Regions from separate parts of the Homo sapiens genome. Here region 2 is linked to region 1. Evidence: promoter capture Hi-C in human tissues and cell types (Jung and others, 2019). All regions are on one chromosome and are shown on one strand. Each heading gives the region's core, a stretch centred on a gene start or on the middle of the fragment in contact. The rest is flanking DNA. Distances are from core to core; before and after follow the strand shown.

The links. Contacts are between HindIII fragments. The study calls those that stand out against the background at their distance.
Region 2: a contact is called between a fragment that was not itself captured here and the fragment with the promoter of GFAP in region 1, in 1 of the 25 tissues and cell types used here (aorta).

Annotation. Positions count from the first base shown.
Region 1 is chr17:44,914,250-44,917,315 of GRCh38, reverse strand. GFAP (glial fibrillary acidic protein) reads left to right here and starts at 1,816. Exons shown (of 9, transcript NM_002055.5): 1 at 1,816-2,290. The coding sequence starts at 1,830. The HindIII fragment of the contact is 9,658 bases long and covers 1-3,066 here.
Region 2 is chr17:46,052,380-46,055,445 of GRCh38, reverse strand. All of the region lies in intron 6 of KANSL1 (KAT8 regulatory NSL complex subunit 1), which reads left to right. Among named protein-coding and RNA genes, the nearest start is that of STH, 55 kb to the right of the region's middle. The HindIII fragment of the contact is 5,613 bases long and covers 1-3,066 here.

The DNA.
Region 1 (3,066 bases), core at 567-3,066:
AGCCTGGGCAACAGTGAGACCCTGTCTCAAAAGACAAAAAAAAAAAAAAAAAAAAAAAGAACATATCCTGGTGTGGAGTAGGGGACGCTGCTCTGACAGAGGCTCGGGGGCCTGAGCTGGCTCTGTGAGCTGGGGAGGAGGCAGACAGCCAGGCCTTGTCTGCAAGCAGACCTGGCAGCATTGGGCTGGCCGCCCCCCAGGGCCTCCTCTTCATGCCCAGTGAATGACTCACCTTGGCACAGACACAATGTTCGGGGTGGGCACAGTGCCTGCTTCCCGCCGCACCCCAGCCCCCCTCAAATGCCTTCCGAGAAGCCCATTGAGCAGGGGGCTTGCATTGCACCCCAGCCTGACAGCCTGGCATCTTGGGATAAAAGCAGCACAGCCCCCTAGGGGCTGCCCTTGCTGTGTGGCGCCACCGGCGGTGGAGAACAAGGCTCTATTCAGCCTGTGCCCAGGAAAGGGGATCAGGGGATGCCCAGGCATGGACAGTGGGTGGCAGGGGGGGAGAGGAGGGCTGTCTGCTTCCCAGAAGTCCAAGGACACAAATGGGTGAGGGGACTGGGCAGGGTTCTGACCCTGTGGGACCAGAGTGGAGGGCGTAGATGGACCTGAAGTCTCCAGGGACAACAGGGCCCAGGTCTCAGGCTCCTAGTTGGGCCCAGTGGCTCCAGCGTTTCCAAACCCATCCATCCCCAGAGGTTCTTCCCATCTCTCCAGGCTGATGTGTGGGAACTCGAGGAAATAAATCTCCAGTGGGAGACGGAGGGGTGGCCAGGGAAACGGGGCGCTGCAGGAATAAAGACGAGCCAGCACAGCCAGCTCATGTGTAACGGCTTTGTGGAGCTGTCAAGGCCTGGTCTCTGGGAGAGAGGCACAGGGAGGCCAGACAAGGAAGGGGTGACCTGGAGGGACAGATCCAGGGGCTAAAGTCCTGATAAGGCAAGAGAGTGCCGGCCCCCTCTTGCCCTATCAGGACCTCCACTGCCACATAGAGGCCATGATTGACCCTTAGACAAAGGGCTGGTGTCCAATCCCAGCCCCCAGCCCCAGAACTCCAGGGAATGAATGGGCAGAGAGCAGGAATGTGGGACATCTGTGTTCAAGGGAAGGACTCCAGGAGTCTGCTGGGAATGAGGCCTAGTAGGAAATGAGGTGGCCCTTGAGGGTACAGAACAGGTTCATTCTTCGCCAAATTCCCAGCACCTTGCAGGCACTTACAGCTGAGTGAGATAATGCCTGGGTTATGAAATCAAAAAGTTGGAAAGCAGGTCAGAGGTCATCTGGTACAGCCCTTCCTTCCCTTTTTTTTTTTTTTTTTTGTGAGACAAGGTCTCTCTCTGTTGCCCAGGCTGGAGTGGCGCAAACACAGCTCACTGCAGCCTCAACCTACTGGGCTCAAGCAATCCTCCAGCCTCAGCCTCCCAAAGTGCTGGGATTACAAGCATGAGCCACCCCACTCAGCCCTTTCCTTCCTTTTTAATTGATGCATAATAATTGTAAGTATTCATCATGGTCCAACCAACCCTTTCTTGACCCACCTTCCTAGAGAGAGGGTCCTCTTGCTTCAGCGGTCAGGGCCCCAGACCCATGGTCTGGCTCCAGGTACCACCTGCCTCATGCAGGAGTTGGCGTGCCCAGGAAGCTCTGCCTCTGGGCACAGTGACCTCAGTGGGGTGAGGGGAGCTCTCCCCATAGCTGGGCTGCGGCCCAACCCCACCCCCTCAGGCTATGCCAGGGGGTGTTGCCAGGGGCACCCGGGCATCGCCAGTCTAGCCCACTCCTTCATAAAGCCCTCGCATCCCAGGAGCGAGCAGAGCCAGAGCAGGATGGAGAGGAGACGCATCACCTCCGCTGCTCGCCGCTCCTACGTCTCCTCAGGGGAGATGATGGTGGGGGGCCTGGCTCCTGGCCGCCGTCTGGGTCCTGGCACCCGCCTCTCCCTGGCTCGAATGCCCCCTCCACTCCCGACCCGGGTGGATTTCTCCCTGGCTGGGGCACTCAATGCTGGCTTCAAGGAGACCCGGGCCAGTGAGCGGGCAGAGATGATGGAGCTCAATGACCGCTTTGCCAGCTACATCGAGAAGGTTCGCTTCCTGGAACAGCAAAACAAGGCGCTGGCTGCTGAGCTGAACCAGCTGCGGGCCAAGGAGCCCACCAAGCTGGCAGACGTCTACCAGGCTGAGCTGCGAGAGCTGCGGCTGCGGCTCGATCAACTCACCGCCAACAGCGCCCGGCTGGAGGTTGAGAGGGACAATCTGGCACAGGACCTGGCCACTGTGAGGCAGAAGTGAGGAGGGGATGGGGAAGGGGGGCCTTGTGAGCAGAAGGGGCTGAATCCCCAAGAAGGAGTGCCCGAGAAGTCTCAGGGAGGGGCCGAACCTCCCTGCTCCCTGGGCCTCCCTACCTCTTGATGGGGCACTATCCTTGCCCCCCAACATGATGGGAGGGACCAGAAACAGGCCCAGGGCCCCGGGGATCTGATGCCCGCATGCCTTCTGCCAGGAGTCCAGGGTCCCCTCAGCACCTCCCTACTGGGGAAAGCAGTGCAGGAGCAGCGGGGCCCCTGTGTTTCATTCATGGCTGGGCTTTGTGACTGTGGGCAGCGAGCTCACCTATTCTGAGCCTGTGTCCATATAAAGGAGGAGTTGGAAGCGGAGAAGGTTGATGTCCATGAGGGAGATTGGATTCTGGGGTGAAGAAAGTGAGGGAAAGAGCAGGCAGGTCTGGGCGCAAAGCACAGGTGACTGCCTGCCACCAGCTTGTGACCCCCATCAAGTTACTTTGACTTGCACAGCTGTGAAGCGGTGGTCATAATAAAATTCATTTCAAAAGGTGGTTACCTGGGATCAGAGGAATCCCCAGGGGCATGGCGCTTCACTGAGCTGACAGGACATGCATGTGTGCCTTCAAGTGCAGGAGGACATGTGCGTGTGTGTGTGTGTGTGTGCAACAGTGAGTGTATGCTTGTGGATGCGCCTGTGTGAGCAGAAGCAGGTGCACCAACCCTGATAAGGCACCTTAGTAATGAGTTAAGGCAAAAGCCCACATCTGCTCATCCTCCAG
Region 2 (3,066 bases), core at 153-2,652, 1.1 Mb before region 1:
TCGCCCAGGCTGGAGTGCAGTGGTGCGATCTCAGCTCACTGTAACGTCTGCCTCCTGGGTTCAAGCGATTCTTCTGCCTCAGCCTCCCGAGTAGCTGGGATTACAGGCGCCCGCCACCATGCCCGGCTAATTTTTTGTATTTTTAGTAGAGACGAGGTTTCACCATGTTGGTCAGGCTGGTCTTGAACTCCTAACCTCAGGTGATCCACCTGCCTTGGCTTCCCAAAGTGCTGGGAATACAGGCGTGAGCCACCGCGCCTGGCCTTTCACTTGTATTTCTAAATAAAACTTACTTTGGGCCGGACACGGTGGCTCACGTCTGTAATCCCAGCACTTTGGGAAGCTGAGGCAGGCGGATCACGAGGTCAGGAGATCGAGACCATCCTGGCTAACACCGTGAAACCCTGTCTCTACAAAAAATACAAACATTAGTCAGGTGTTGTGGCGGGCGCCTATAGTCCCAGCTACTCGGGAGGCTGAGATAGGAGAATGGCATGAAGCTAGGAGGCGGAGCTTGCAGTGAGCTGAGATCCCACCACTGCACTCCAGCCTGGGCGACAGCGAGACTCCATCTCAAAAAAAAAAAAAAAGTTACTTTGAATACTGACATTTAAAGAAAAAGACACGATGTGAGAGAATGACCATGGAATTAGTGGTTGAAGAGCCAAGTGCAGAGGCCTGTGATCTGGAAGGTTGCCTGCTATCTTGGAGAAATATAGCAAGGAAATCAGAGTAACTGGTAGTGTCAGCTAGGAGAGTAACAAAAAAATGAGGTGAAGTCAGAGAGAGGGGATAGAGGCGACAAATACTATAGGACCTTGTGGGAACCATGCAAGAAGTTTGGTTTCTATTCCTCGTGAGATGAGAAGTCATTTGGAAGATTATGAGGTTGGTATGATGTGATTGAGATTTTAAAACAAGATTTACACTGATTACTGTGTTGATTGATTTGGAAGTAAGAACCAGTAGGAGGAGGATCAGTTAGGAGGCTTGAAGAAACCCATTTGAGAAAAGATAGTGACTTGGACTAGATTGAGTGTAGTTGAGGTGGTATGAAGTGGTTGGATTCTGCCAATAGGATTTCATGACTGGGACCGGTCGCGATGGCTCACGCCTGTAATCCCAGCACTTTGGGAAGCTGATACGGGTGGATCATCTGAGGTCAGGAGTTTGAGACCAGCCTGGCCAACGTGGTGAAACCCCGTCTCTACTAAAAATATAAAAGATTAGCTGGGCGTGGTGGTGCATGCCTGCAATCCCAGCTACTTGGTAGGCTAAGGCAGAAGAATCTCTTGAGCCCAGGAGATCCTTGTTTTTTTTTTCTTTTAAGAGACTGACTCACTCTGTCTCCCAGGCCTGGAGTGCAGTGGACATGATCACTATAGCTCCTCACTCCTGGGCTCAAGTGAGCCACCTCAGCCTCCCAAATAGCTAGGGCTACACATGCACACCATCTGTTGTGATATTTTTAAAAATTTGTTTTCTTATTGTAAAACACAATATTGTATGTGTTCTTGTTGTTTTTTAACTTAAATGAATTCATGCAGATGATTTGGCATCTTGTTTCAGTGGAAGAGCGTGTGCGTGTGTACACTTAAGTTTGTCTGCAGGATAGATTCTTGGTGTGGATTTGTGCAACATGGGTATGAATTCAAGTTTTCTTTCAAAAATTTTCCAAAATGTATCCTTTAATAAGTATTAAATATATCTTTGGCCGGGTGCGGTGGCTCATGCCTATAATCCCAGCATTTGGGAGGCCGAGGCGGGCAGATCACGAGGTCAGGAGATCAAGACCATCCTGGCTAACAATGGTGAAACCCTGTCTCTACTAAAAAAATACAAAAATATTAGCTGGGTGTGGTGGTGGGCGCCTGTAGTCCCAGCTACTTGAGAGGCTGAGGCAGGAGAATGGTGTGAACCTGGAAGGCAGACTTGCGCCACTGCACTCCAGCCTGGGTGACAGAGCAAGACTCTTGTCTCAAAAAAAAAATAAGTATTAAATATATTTTTATATACTCCTCGGGTTCTATTAGTACTTTACAGTTTTTAATTTAAAAGTGAGATTACTGTTTAAGTTACATGTGTGCACATTACCCTTTTGTCAAGTTATAAGTAGAATTTCTACCCTTTATTTTATTTTTTTAAATTTTTAAATTTTTTTGGAGACGGAGTTTTGCTCTTGTTCCCCAGGCTGGAGTGCAGTGGTGCAATCTCAGCTCACTGCAACCTCTGCCTCCCAGGTTCAAGTGATTCTCTTACCAGCCTCTCCAGTAGCTGGGATTACAGGTGCCCACCACCATGCCCAGTTTTTTGTATTTTTAGTAGAGACGGGGTTTCACCATGTTGGCCAGGCTGGTCTCGAACTCCTGACCTCAGGTTATCCACCCACCTTGGCCTCCCAAAGTACTGGGATTACAGGCGTGAGCCACCATGCGCAGCCTTTTTTTTTTTTTTTTTTTTTTTTTTTTTTTTTTTTTTTTTGGAGACAGGATCTTACTCTTTTTCCCAGGCTGCAGTGCAGTGGTGCAATCATGGCTCACTATAACCTGAACTCCTGGGCTTAAGCGATTCTTCTCCCTCAGCCTCCTGAGTAGCTGGGACTAAAGGCATGCAATACCATGCTGGGCTAAATTTTTTTTTTTTTTTTTTTTAATTTTAAATTTTATTTTAAGAGATGGAGTCTTACTGTGTTGCCCAGGCTAGTCTCAGACTCCTGGCTTCAAGCAATCCTCTCTCCCACCTCAAAGTTTTGGGATTACAGTTGTGAGCCACCACGCCTAGCCACATCTATTGAATTTTTTTATTGTTGTTGTTTTGTTTTTTTGTTTGTTTGCTTGTCTTTGGACTTAGTCTCATTCTGTCGCCCAGGCTGGAGTGCAGTGGTGTGATCTCAGCTCACTGCAACCTCTGCCTCCCAGATTCAAGCGATTCTCCTGCCTCAGCCTCCCGAGTAGCTGAGATTACAGGCTCCCACCACCACACCCAGCTGACGTTTCTATTTTCAGTAGAGTCGGGGTTTCACCATGTTGGCCAGGCTAGTCTCAAACTCCTGACCTCAAGTGATCC